Linked DNA regions of Homo sapiens: region 2 is linked to region 1. The links are contacts of gene promoters, found by promoter capture Hi-C in human tissues and cell types (Jung and others, 2019). All regions are on one chromosome and are shown on one strand. The core of a region is centred on a gene start or on the middle of the fragment in contact, and the rest is flanking DNA. Distances in the headings are between cores, read along the strand shown.

Region 1 (6,784 bases), core at 1,314-3,813:
GCCTCCCAAGCAGCTGGGATTACGGGCTCTTGCCACCACGCCCAGCTAATTTTTTGAATTTTTAGTAGAGACGGGGTTTTGCCATGTTGGCCAGGCTGGTCTCGAACTCTTGACCTCAGGTATCCACCCACCTCGGCCTCCCAAAGTGCTGGGATTACAGGCATGAGCCACTGCACCCGGCCTTTTTTCCTCTTTTTTTTTTTAAATGAGCCAAGGTCTCTCTATGCTGTCCAGGCTGGTCTCAAACTCCTTAGCTCAAGTGATTAGGCTGGTGTCAAACTCCTAAATTCAAACTCCTAACCTCACACCTCAGTCTCCCAAAGTGCTGGGATTACAGGTGTGAGCCACCACACCCGGCCACAAACATATTTTTTTAAAAATTCTTTAATTATATAATTTTTAAAATAAAGATATAGGGTCTTACTGTGTTACCCAGGCTGATCTGGAACTCCTAGCCTCAAGTAATCTTTCTGCCTCAGCTTCCCAAAGTACTGGGATTATATGCATGAGCCACCATGCCTGGCCACAAACAAATTTTTTTTAAGAATTATTCAATGTGTATAATTTTTAAGCAAACAGGGCCTTGCTCTGTTGCACAGGCTGATCTGAAACTCCTAGCCTCAAGCGATCCTCCTGCCTCAGCCTCTCAAAGTGCTGGGATTACAGGGAAGAATTTGCAAATTTAGAACTTGTGAATAATGAGAATCTACTGCACTTTCTTCCTGTTTCTCTCATTCGGGGCTGGCTGAATTCTGTCTTACTCATATTTTATCTCTAGCATCTGGAAAACTGCCTGGCCCACAGTAGGCTCTCAATAATAAATGTATTTCCAATGAGCGAATGAGTCAATTCAGTGGAAGTGCTCAGCTCACAGCAGTGATAGCTAGTGTTTGTGAAGACACACCACGCGCCTGCCCCGTGCACGCTGTCCTGGTCAACAAGGGAAACAGCAGAGTATTGTTCTTTTGCACCTGAGCTCAAGAGCAGACTGCCTGGGTTCAAATATGGGACATGCTTCTTATTAATTAATTATATAACTTCGAGCAAGATCATTGGCCTCTCTGAGCCTCAGTTTCCTTGGCTATCAAATGCAGTATTCATAGTTCTACCGTGGAAGTTATGGTCAGGAGTCTAACTTGGCCCTGCACAGAAAGCCTCTAGCATAGGGTGAACCCTTAGTAAACAGTAGCTTTTATTGTGAATAATTCCCAAGGCAACCCGATTTTCACACCCATTTTGCAGATACAAAAACTGAAGCTGAGGATGGTTCAGTGAGTTTCCAAGGTCACAAAGGAAGGGCTGCCTATGGGGGGGAATCTATGCCCATGTTAGTAACACTGCTGTTATATAAACATAAGGGGTCAGCGGGGCGCAGCGGCTCATGCCTATAATCCCAGCACTTTGGGAGGCCGAGGCTGGAGAATGGCTTGAGCCTAGGAGTTTGAGACCATCCTGGGGAATATAGTGAGGCCCTATCTCTATAAAACAAACAAACATAAGGGCTCATTTTTACTAGTTGTAAAAGGGCCCTTTTACTAGTTGTAAAAAAGGCTCGTTATAAGGCCTCTCACTGCCTAATCAGCTAGGTTTGCCAAAATGAGGAAGACAGCTCCAGCCAGTCTCCTGATCTTCTCTGGGATCAGGGTGGGGAGGAACCCCCTTCCTACCCATAAACCCCTAAGAGTCTTCGCTCACATTCCACACTGGTGTCTTTCTGTTCCTTGTCCACTTTCGAGTTCAACCCTTTCAGAACCAGCCCTACTGTGGGGGGTGGGGGATGGTTAGTTTGTTATCTTGGGTTTGACAGTACAAAGGCAGAGGCATTTCCTGCTTAAAAGGCACATGAGAAAGGAGGAGGAGGGCGAACTGGAGGAATAGGAGGAGGAGGGAATCATCAGCATTCTGGGTTAGAACAAACAAATGTCCTCCGTTTTTCTCCAACTCCTTAGATCAAGGGTCCTCAAATTTGGCTGCCAGCTGGAATCTCTTGCAAACATTTTAATACCCAGATGTCCAGTCCCCCACCCAGACCAATCACATCTGAGTCTCTGGGGGGGGGCGGGGGTGGAACTAGGGCATCGGTATTTTTTTAATGCTTCCCAAGCAACGCCAACGGGCAGACAAGTTTAAGAAGTGGTGCTCTGGACCTTATCAGCACTCGGCTGCCACCCTGGAGTGGCTCTGGGCGACAGTGGCTGCTTTCCGCTTCGAGGACGCCCGGCTTGGGGATTCGGGCATGCTCTGGGAGGCGAGGGCTGGGGAGGATGCGAGCGTGCCAGCGACCTGGTGCTCTGCCTTGCTCTAGGCCCAGCTCCGAGGCTGCGGGTCTCTGGGTCCCCCCCACGGCTACAACACGTGCTGCCGCCCCGACTCCTCCGGTTATCTCTGCAGACCGCAAGCGGTGCCCAGCGGCCGCCCCGCTGTCCACCCCGACCTCAGAGGCTCCAGGGAGACGCCCGGGGCTCAGGAATCCTACCTTGGCTGCCGGCGCTGCCCTCCAGTCCCCGGAATCCTGGGACTCAGGTTCGAGCTGTCGCTGTCGCTGTCGCTGCGCCTGTGAAGCGCCCACTAGAGCGCAGGCGCCACCTAGTGGGCGCGGGGCGGCTGCGCAGGGACCGCGCTGGCAGGCGGGAGCGCAGTCCAGGGCGGAAATGCAGCCAGGGCTTCTTCCCACGTGGGCGGTTTTCCAGCGCGCCGCCAGCCCTGTGGCCAGATCCGGCCTGGGGCGGGACCACCTTCACCCGCTGCGGGGCACTGGGATCTAAACTTGGTGAACTTTCTCTTGGGGCACGGAGGGACCCCTCGGCCTGGTATCCATCCTCCGGTTTTCCGGGCTGAGCACAAGGATCTTTCCCTTCATCCAGCAGCTTTCAGTGCACCCCACCTTTGGCACTGCTTCTCTTTTAAATGTGCTGGGACCATCCGAGGCTGGGGTTCTCTCCAACCCAGGGAGGCCCTTCGCCTATCAGCAACCATTTTTTCCTGCCACCCCCTAAACCGTCCCTGAATGAGAGAAACAGCCTGCTCTGCTGGCTTGCTCTACAGAGGCCAGGACTGGTGGAGGATGGGTGTGTGCCAGCGACCTCGTGCTCTGCTCTGCTGGAAGGCCTTCTCTGAGCAGTGGAAGGGGAAGGGGCGGCTTAAGGGAATTGTGTTTTTTGTTTTTTGTTTTGTTTTGTTTTGTTTTTGTAGAGACAAGGTCTCTCTATGTTGCCCTGGTGGCTCTTGAACTCCTGGTCTCAAGCGATCCTCTCACCTGCAGCCTCCCAAAGCACTGGGATTACCGGAGTAAACTATGGCTCCCAGCTGCCTGGTATTCTTTCAATGAAGACATGCCAAAACGCTTACAAATATGGTGGACATTTAATGGTTTATATTTCATTTATGTCTTCATTTAACAACGATTAACTGAGCACCTACTATGTGCCACTTTTCTACAATCAAGGGATACAATGAAGAACAAAACACAAAAATCTCTGCTTTTGTTGAATTCACATTTAATGTAACACATGAATACTTTTAACACACCCAACGATCTAATGCAAAGCGATTGAGCTCGTTGTGAGATAAGTAGAGGATTTATTAAAAATATCTATATTTAGGGCCAGGCACCGTAGCTCACGCCTGTAATCCCAGCACTTTGGAAGGCTGAGGCAAGAGGATCGCTTGAGGTCAGGAGTTTGAGACCAGCCTAGCCAACATGGCAAAACCCAGTCTCTACAAAAAATACAAAAATTAGCCGGGCGTGGTGGCAGGAGCCTGTAATCCCAACTACTCCAAGGCTGAGGTGGGAGAATCCCTTGAACCCGGAAGGAGGAGGTTGCAGTGAGCTGAGATCGCACCACTGCACTCCAGCCTGGGTGACAGAGTGAGACTCTGCCTCAAAATCAATCAATCAATCAATCAATCAATCTATGTTTAGGGCGCCAAGGGCAGACATTCCTGGTGATGGATATAAGCATTACAGAGTTCTATGGGAACGTCTTCACGTTTTCTTGTAATCCTGGCAGTTTATCTCTGTGGCAACATTTGGAGATAATGCCTTCAGTGGAAATTTCAGGTGATTTGTGAAAGTTAGGCCTGCAATCCTCCTTTCCCCCTCCCCCCGGCCCCCACTCTGCTCCCCCAGGACGCTCTGTCATTGTTCTAGCCCAGTGTGAGTTTGTGTGTGAGTGTGTGCCTATTTAACCTTTGGACTCTCTGTACTGGTGTAATCTGGTCAAAGTGAATATCAAGGGCAGAGGAGGACAAGGAGGAGCAGGAGGAGAAGGAGGATGAGGAGCAGGAGGAGGAGCAGGAGGAGGAGGAGCAGGAGAAAGGAGGAGAAGCAGGAGCAGGAGGAAGAGGAGCAGGAGAAGAAGGAGCAGAAGGAGGAGGAGCAGGAGGAGGAGAAGGAGGAGGAGCAGGTGGAGGAGGAGGAGCAGGAGGAGGAGAAGCAGGAGGAGCAGAAGGAGAGGAGGAGCAGGAAGAGGAGGAGAAAGAGCAGGAGGAAGAAGAGGAGGAGAAGCAGGAGGAGGAGGAGGAAGAGCAGGAGGAGGAGGAAGAGCAGGAGGAGGAGCAGGAGGAGGAGGAGAAGGAGCAGGAGGAAGAGGAGGAGAAGCAGGAGCAGGGGGAGGAGGAGGAGGCAGAGCAGGAGGAGGAGCAGGAGGAGGAGGAGGAGGTGTCATCTGTGGACAATACCTGGAAGGGCAAGGGGTGGTGGGTGTCACTAAAAGGAACCAGCCCCAGCTACTTCACTGCAGGCTGGTGCCCTGGTGAAGGTGAATCAGTCAGAGGAGTGCTGACTGCCCATGGTAAGTACCAGCTGCCAGACAATTTCCCATTCTTTCACTTTAAAGTGTCTGAGTCATGTCCAGACCATTCTTGCCCCATCTTTGCAACAGCTCCCTCCCCACCACTGTGCCCCAAAGCATGCCTGGGCAAAGTCCTAGATTACAACCTCTGGATTCTGGCATCACCTGATGAGATTAAGTCTTCCTAGTGACTTTCTCTTCTGAGTTCTCCTGGCATTTTTCTCATTCTGCTAATCACAGTGTTTCTGGAAACTGCAGAGTTATCAACAGATCTGTTTTCTCCATGGAAAACAGGAGTTTTGGTAGGCTGAAGTATGTAAATAACAATAATAAAATATTTATAACGTGTTAGACACTAACAGTTTTCTTTAAGAGATGGGGTCTTGTTCTGTCATCCAGGTGATCATTGTTCATTGCAGCCACAAATTCGAGCTCAAGGGATCTTCCCACCTCAGACTCCCAAGTAGCTGGGACTGCAGGCATGTGCCACCATGCCTGGCTAATTTTTAAATTTTAATTTCTTTTTTTTTTAAGAGATGGGGTTTATTGTTTTTTTTTTTTTTTATGTTGCTCAGGCTGGTCTAGAACTCCTAGCATCAAGCATTTCTCCCACCCCAACCTCCTAAGTAGCTGGGATTATAGACACAAGCTGCCATACCTGGCTCATGCACTAAGGATTTTAGATTGACAATTTAGTTTAATCTTCACAGTAATCCTACAAAGTAGGCACTGTTACTCTCCCCACTTTCTCAGCGAAGAAACTGAGACTTGCGATGTTTAAGTAACTTGCCCTAGGTAGAGGAGTTAGCAAGTAATGTACCCAGAACGTGAATCTGGATTATCTTATTCCAAGGCACATGCCCTGAACACCTCACTACTGTTTACTAAGCACCTACTATGTGCTGGACGCTGTGCTTTATATATGGAACAGGATAGGCAAGGTACTCATTATATATATATATATATATATATATATATATATATATATATATTTATACTTTTAAGTTGTAGGGTACAGGTGCACAATGTGCAGGTTTGTTACATATGTATACATGTGCCATGTTGGTGTGCTGCACCCATTAACTTGTCATTTACATTAGATATATCTCCTAATGCTATCCCTCCCCCCTCCCCCTACCCCACAACAGGCCCCGGTGTGCGATGTTCCCCTTCCTGTGTCCAAGTGTTCTCATTGTTCAATTCCCACCTATGAGTGAGAACATGCGGTGTTTGGTTTTTTGTCCTTGCGATCATTTGCTGAGAATGATGGTTTCCAGCTTCATCCATGTCCCTACAAAGGACATGAACTCATCATTTTTTATGGCTGCATAGTACTCCATGATGTATATGTGCCACATTTTCTTAATCCAGACTATCATTGTTGGACATTTACTCATTTTTATCCCTTTTGCTTTCTTGTTCTGTTCACCCTTTTCTTCAAAGGGAAAATTTTGTTTACTTTTGTTTTTTAAAATAAATTCATAAAATTATGTTATGAGATGTGACCTAATTTTTAGTAAGAAAGGGAATATTTATCTTCTAGAGTGAGTCTCCATTAAAGAGGGTGAGGATCAGGCCAGAGGCAGTGGCTCACACCTATAATCCCAGTACTTTGGGAGGCCGAGGCAGGCGGATCACGAGGTCAGGAGATCAAGACCATCCTGGCTAACACGGTGAAACCCTGTCTCTACTAAAAATACAAAAAATTAGCTGGGCATGGTGGTGGGCGCCTGTAGTCCCAGCTACTCAGGAGGCTGAGGCAGGAGAATGGCGTGAACCCGAGAGGCGGAGCTTGCAGTAAGCCAAGATCGCACGACTGCACTCCAGCCTGGGAGACAGAGCGAGACTCCGTCTCAAAAAAAAAAGAGGGTGAGGATCCTCTGTGGTCTAAAGTGGATGGAGCTAGAAATGGTGGCACTGGAGTCATGGGCAAGATGGTGTCAGGTCCCCAGCAGAAGGCGTAGAGAAGGAAAGAGGGAGAAATGCCAAAG
Region 2 (6,784 bases), core at 1,075-3,574, 310 kb before region 1:
GAAAGTAATATAGACATACAGTATATATATATGCATGTGTTAATGATGTATTTTTCTATTCCTAATTAATAGTTTTAAAAATCTTTTTATTTTAGTCAGGTAAAAGTTCCAGAAATGTGAACAACAAAGATTTTTTTGATCCAGTTGAAAGTGATGAAGACATAGCAAGTGATCATGATGATGAGCTGGGTTCAAACAAGATGATGAAATTGCTGAAGAAGAAGCAGAAGAAGGAAGCATTTCTGAAATGTGAGTATTTTGAAACATCCTTTACTTTGTGAGCTGGAATTGCCCAATCAGTGTTTGTATTTGTGGTTTTCACATATGTTTGTTTTAAGAAGTTAGATACTCTCCTATCAGATCTTCTCAAGATAGCCAGAGGAAAGTCACTGGATTTAAACGGACATTAGAGATCATTTAATGAAGAAAAATATTACTGACAGTAGCAATCAAACCTTTCTTACCAGGAACTTTGATTTGGTTTTGTGCCCCCAAAATCCTGTTATTTTTGTGAGATAAGAGGTTTGTATTATAGATTGATGAATAATTTATTTTCTATATATTGGACCCTTTTTGTTTCTTACATAGCATTTCACTTAAATGATAGCTTCTCTTCCTTAATACCTGAATGATTTTGGAAGTTCTAAGTATCTGGTTGCATTAGGCATATAAAAGAGGAACTTTGTTAAGGGAAAATATGTTTCCTTTTGTTTTTCTAATGGAAAACAATATATTTCTTTTTATAAGAGTTTTGGTAGTGTAGGGATGAAGGTGATCACCTGGAAGAAAGAGAAGACAGTAAACAATGTAAAGAAAGCTTGAAAAGAGTGACTTTTGCTTTGCCGGATGATGAGGCAACTGAAGATGCAGGTGTTTTAAATGTAAAGAAAAATTCTGATGAAGTTAATCTTCTTTTGAAAAAAGACAGGAAAAGGTAATTAGGAATTTAAGGAATTTTTAATATGCTTCGCATGATTGTGGAACTCACAGACTACTAACAAATCTTCCCTATTTTCTTTCTTTTTTTTTTGAGATGGAGTCTTGCTCTGTCACCCAGGCTGGAGTGCAATGGCGTGATCTCGGCTCACTGCAGCCTCCACCTCCCGGGTTCAAGTGATTCTGCCTCAGCCTCCTGAGTAGCTGAGATTAAAGGTGCATTCCACCATGCCTGGCCAATTTTTGTATTTTTAGAAGACATGGGGTTTCACCGTGTTGGCCAGGCTGATCTCGAACTCCTGACCTCAGGTGATCCTCCTGCCTTGGCCTCCCAAAGTGCTGAGATTACAGGCGTGAGCCACTGTGCCCTAGCCTTCCCTATTTTTCTTGTTGTAACTATTAACCATCCTTTGAAAACAAATATCTTGGCCAGGTGTGGTGGTTGATGCCTGTAATCCTAGCACTTTGGTAGTCTGAAGCGGGAGGATCACTTGAGCTCAGGAGTTCAAGACCAGCCTGGGCAACATAGTGAGGCCCTGTCTCTACAAAAAATAAAAAAATTAGTGGGGCATGGTGGTGTATGCCTGTAATCCAGCGACTCAGGTGGCTGAGGCGGGAGGATCACTTGAGCCCAGGAGGTTGATGCTGCAGTGAGCTATGATCACATCACTGCTTTCCAGCCTGGGTGGTGGAGCAAGATCCTGTCTTCAAACAAACAAACAAACAAACAAACAGAAAACTGAAGATCTTGCTGCTACTCTCTAAAGCAAAAGCACATCTTATAGAGATGCCATATGGAAAGCATCTGATTTGCAGAAATCAGTGCCTGCGTTACCCAGCCTATAGCTTTCAATTTGGGGCCTGCGTGTAAAATAGTTGTTTCTTTTCTCTCTCCCTTGTGTCTTTATATGTATAGCCTGTCTCTCCTGACAAAGCTGTCCTGAGAGCCTCTTCTTGTAACTGTTTTGACTGCTCTAGAGGATACCGCCTATGTCTTTAAGGTGCTCCACAGATTTTGGTGAATGTCAAATAGCTGTAATTTTAATTAATACCAGGACAAACATATCTTCCCAAAGTATGTCATGATTTCAGACAAGTGAAATCTCATTAATTTTAGTAGATATAGTCTGGCTCCAATAATTTGGCTATATTATTTATCCAATCCCAAAATTTTATTATAATAAAAATGAGAATAGTGCCAGGCACAGTAGCTCACACTTGTAATCCCAGCACTTTGGGAGACTGAGGAGGGAGGATTGCTTGAGCCCAAGTGTTCAAGACCAGCATGGACAACACGGTGAAACCCCGTCTCCACTACAAATTTAAAAAATTAGCTGGGTGTGGTAGCATGAGCCTATAGTCTCTGCTACTCGAGAGGCTTATCGGGGATGATCACTTGAGTCCAGCAGTTCAAGGCTGCAGTGAGCTATGATTGGACTAGGCACTCCAGCCTGGGCAACAGAGCTGGAGAACAGGCAAATAAACTATACCAAGAATATCAAAAGAATTATTTTTAAAATCTGCGAATCTAAATTAAATTCATCGTTGTCAGATTGTCCCAAGAAAATAAATTCTAAAGGGGGAAAAAAACCATAAAGTATCAATGAGTTAGTGTCCTCCCATCCCACTCCTCCCACCCTTCCCCCACAAAAAAGAAAGAAAGGTTTGGTTTTGCTTTGAAATTATATCAGACCTTCAAGTGAAATTTTCAGTAAATCACAAATAATTTATTGCAATTTCCACAGATAAAGAATAAAATAGAACTTTCAAACTTTTTTCTTTTCAAACTGTTAGAACATGAAAACCCAAACCTGACAAAGGTGGCGTTAAAACACACACACTCTCTCATTCATGACTAGTGATGCAAACATAGCACAGTGGGAAAATTATGCCACACAACCACATGAACCTTATCCTTTTGAATCACTATTAGAAGATCTGATATGATTCCTGGTTGCAAGACGTTAAGGAGAAAATACACGGTTCCCTCCATATATGTTAGAAAGACATTTGATAAAATTCAATATTTATTTCTGATTTTTTTTTAACTCCTAGTGGGTTATAAATACATCTAGCCAAAAGCTGCCATCATGCATGATGGGTGAAATTCTACAAACATCCCTTTAAGATCAGGAATAAGACAAAATGTCCAGTATTACAGTTACCCCTGTTAATTAACACTAACAGTTAATAGCCACATAAGCCAGTGCAACTACAAAAGATAAGAGATTAGGAAAACTTCCAGGAGCAGTGGTTCACACCTGTAATCCCAGCACTTTGGGAGCTCAGGAGCTCTCAGCACTTGAGCTCAGGAGTTTGAGACCAGCCCAGGCAACATGGTGAGACCTCATCTCTGCAAAAAAATACAAAATTAGCTGGGCGCGTTACATGTGCCTGTGTCCCAGCTACTTGGGAGTCTGAAGTGAGAGGACTGCTTGAGCCTGGGAGATGGAGGTTGCAATGAGCTGAGATAGTGCAGCTGTACTCCAGCCTGGGCAACAGAGCGAGACTCTGTCTCAAAAAAAAAAAAAAAAAAAAAAAGATTAGGGATACTAAAATGAAAACATTAGTGTTTGGAGAGAAAACCGAAAGGATAAACTGAATCAATATTAGGAAAATAAGAGAATTCTGTAAGTTAGCTGAAAAAGCTGGCATTTTATACACTGAAGTCATAATTGTTGTCTTTTAGAAGTTAGAGATAATAAGAATTTGAGTTTAAAGTCAAAAGGGTCAGACTCCATCAAATACTAATATCCTAATCAAAGAATTACTTGGCCAGGTGTGGTGGCTCACGCCTGTAATCTCAGCACTTTGGGAGGCCAAGGTGGGTGGATCACGAGGTCAGGAGATCAAGACCATCCTGGCTAACATGATGAAACCCCATCTCTACTAAAAATACAAAAAATTAGCCAGGCGTGGTGGCGGGTGCCTGTAGTCCCAGCTACTCCAGAGGCTGAGGCAGGAGAATGGCTTGAACCCGGGAGGAGGAGCTTGCAGTGAGCTGAGATCATGCCACTGCACTCCAGCCTGGCCAACAGAGTGAGAGACTCCATCTAAAAAAAAAAAAAAAAAAAGAATTACTTAACTTTAGGATGCTCTAATAATCAAAATTGATAGTGGCTTGTGAACAGATAGATCACTTGAATAGAATAGAGCCCAGAAATAAACCCAAATGCTTCTGAGGGAGTTTAGTATATTATAAACATGAAATTTTAAATAAATGAGGATAAGAAATTATTTGCAGCTCACCTCACCATAGGCAGCAGGAATAGGAGGTCATTGGCAGAATAAAAAGATGGTAAGAACAGAACAGAATTATAGAACAGTACATTTTTTGCTTCCCCACTTTTCAAAGTATTTTTTGTTTTTACACAAGTATAATTTTATTTTCTAAATGTATACTAATTTTTTTGTCTCTTTCTTAGATGAATGAAAAAAATTACATCTTTAGAAAAAGAGTTATTAGAAAAAAGCCTTGGCAGCGTCGGGGGGAAGTGACAGCACAGAAGAGACCAGAGAATAGCTTCCTGGAGGAGACCCTGCACTTTAACCATGCTGTCTGGATGGGTACAGTGCCCTCTTCTGCAAAGAGTTCACTTCTATGCTTTTTCTGTGGTTCCATTTCATAGAAAGATTTGGGGCGATGTTTCTTTTCCCTTAACTTTTTATTTTAAAAACTTGCAAACACAGAAAAGTTGATAAAATCATACAGTGAACATCTGTATTCTATTCAACTGGATTCACTAGTTCACATTTTGTCATATTTGTGTTCTCTTTTCCCCATATGGAAGATTGTATATTTGCCCTTTTTCCCCCTGAATCATTTCAAAGTAAGTTGCCAGTATCATAGCATTTCACTGTTAAGTACTTTTGCAGATATCTCCTAAGAACCAGGATATTCTCCTATATAATCACAATACCATTAATCCACCCAAAACATTTAACATCAGTACACTAATGATACCTACTGTATAGATTATAATCAGCTTCCTTGCAGTAATCTGTTTAGAAGACTTGCATCCTGTCACTGTCCACTGATTAAATTTTGAACTCTTAACTTGAAACCCTGGTCATCTCATTGCCTTCTTTTTTATACCCATTAAGTCAAAATAAGTTTTCATTTTATTTCAACAGAAAAGAGAATGGAAAAGAGGGGAAGAGTCCCTGGTACCTTGGATAAAGTATGAGCACTTACTACCATATGTATTCTAGTTCTGTAGTTTTCAAACTTCAGGGAGCATCTCAAGGCTTATTAAAGCACAGATAGCTGTCCCTCTTCCCCACTTTCTGATTCAGGAAGTGTGGGGCTGGTCCAGGAATTTGCATGTCTAACAGGTTCCCACGTGTTGCTGATGCTGAGGGTCTAAGGACTACAATGCGAGAATCAGTGGTTTAGTGGATATCTATCTAATGAATACATGTTATATTTCCTTTAGCACTTGTGATTACAGGGGAAACACCTTTCAACTGTAATCAGTTATTACAGTTATTATTATTAACTGTAATATATTAACTGTAATTATTATTAACTGTATATTATACAGTTAATAATATATATTAACTGTATGTTATACAGTTAATAATATATATTAACTGTATATATAACTGTATATTAACTGTATATTATTATTAACTGTAATATATTAACTGTAATCTGTTAATATATCATTAAACAGAAGATAAGAGATCAGGTCAGTAAGAATTAAATTTAACTTAATTGAAATGTCACTGAAATTTTTAAAAATAATATGACAGGCTAGGCACAGTGGCTCATGCCTGTAATCCCAGCACTTTGGGAGGCCAAGGCAGATGGATCACTTGAGGTCAGGAGTTCGAGACCAGCCTGTCCAAGATGGTAAAACTCCCTCTCTACTAAAAATACAAAAATTAGCTGGGCATGGTGGTGCATGCCTGTAGTCCCAGCTACTCAGGAGGCTGAAGCAGGGGAATCGCTTGAACTCAGAAGATGGAGGTTGCAGTGAGCTGAGATGCGCCACTGCACTCCAGCCTGGGCAACAGAGCGAGACTCCATCTCAAAATAAATACATAAATAAATAAAATAAAAAGAAAAAATAAAGGGAAGATGGGGCAGTTTTGTGAACTGCACGTCCTGAAACTGGGCTGATTTCCCTCAAGAGGCAGGGATTTAAGCTCATCTCATCTCAACCTGGGGTAATTTGAGTGCCACAGGATAAATATGGGGCATCTTTCTGAAGCATCAGTTTCCCTTGATTCTATTGAGAGACAAAACATTAATGTACTTAGGCATGACAGTCACATAGATTTATGAGTATACAAGACTTCTCTCTGAAATGAGGCTTGGGTTATCCTCTTTCTGTTAAATTCCCAGATTTAACAGAAAGGCTGCCTTCTGCCATGAGGATACATTGATGTAAAAGTTTGAGAGGTACTGGTGCACTTCTTAACACTAACAGATGTGTGAGGGTGTATGGCTCTAAACCACACAGTATACAGTTTCTGCCTACTTAATATTTGCTTTTCTACCTCTGCCTCTGGTTTTGGTCCCTGGCAGCTGCTGATTTGTGGCAAAATCCTGGAGCTCGGAGTCAGAAGACTGAGTTTAAGTTCCATTATTGCCTTTTTTTCAGCCATGGTATCAATCCCTCTCAGTCACTAAGTGATTGTGACAACACTTCCTACAGTTCTTGGTGGCATTAAATCAGATGGTCTATAATAGTATTTTGTATAAACTGTAAAGCAGGATGTGACTGTAGGAGCTTGTAGCTCTCATGAGTATCACTGCTCTTCCTTTCCACAGTTGAGAGACTCTCCTCCCCAGACCAGCCCTAGTGTTGGTACAGGAGCAACCGACACCAAAAAGAAGAAA

What was found. The method cuts DNA at HindIII sites, captures the fragments that hold promoters and counts their contacts. A contact is called where the count stands out against the background at its distance.
Region 2: a fragment that was not itself captured here is called in contact with the fragment with the promoter of CHD9 in region 1 in 1 of the 25 tissues and cell types used here (spleen).

Annotation. Positions count from the first base shown.
Region 1 is chr16:53,050,770-53,057,553 of GRCh38, reverse strand. CHD9 (chromodomain helicase DNA binding protein 9) reads right to left here and starts at 2,563. Exons shown (of 39, transcript NM_001308319.2): 1 at 2,477-2,563. It overlaps CHD9NB (CHD9 neighbor), which reads left to right and starts at 4,657. Exons shown (of 3, transcript NM_001396020.1): 1 at 4,657-4,793. RefSeq lists enhancers at 2,176-2,225, 1,738-2,269. The HindIII fragment of the contact is 13,928 bases long and covers 1-6,784 here.
Region 2 is chr16:53,363,607-53,370,390 of GRCh38, reverse strand. It overlaps the pseudogene LOC101929000 and the pseudogene MPHOSPH10P1. Among named protein-coding and RNA genes, the nearest start is that of RBL2, 67 kb to the left of the region's middle. The HindIII fragment of the contact is 6,033 bases long and covers 1-5,340 here.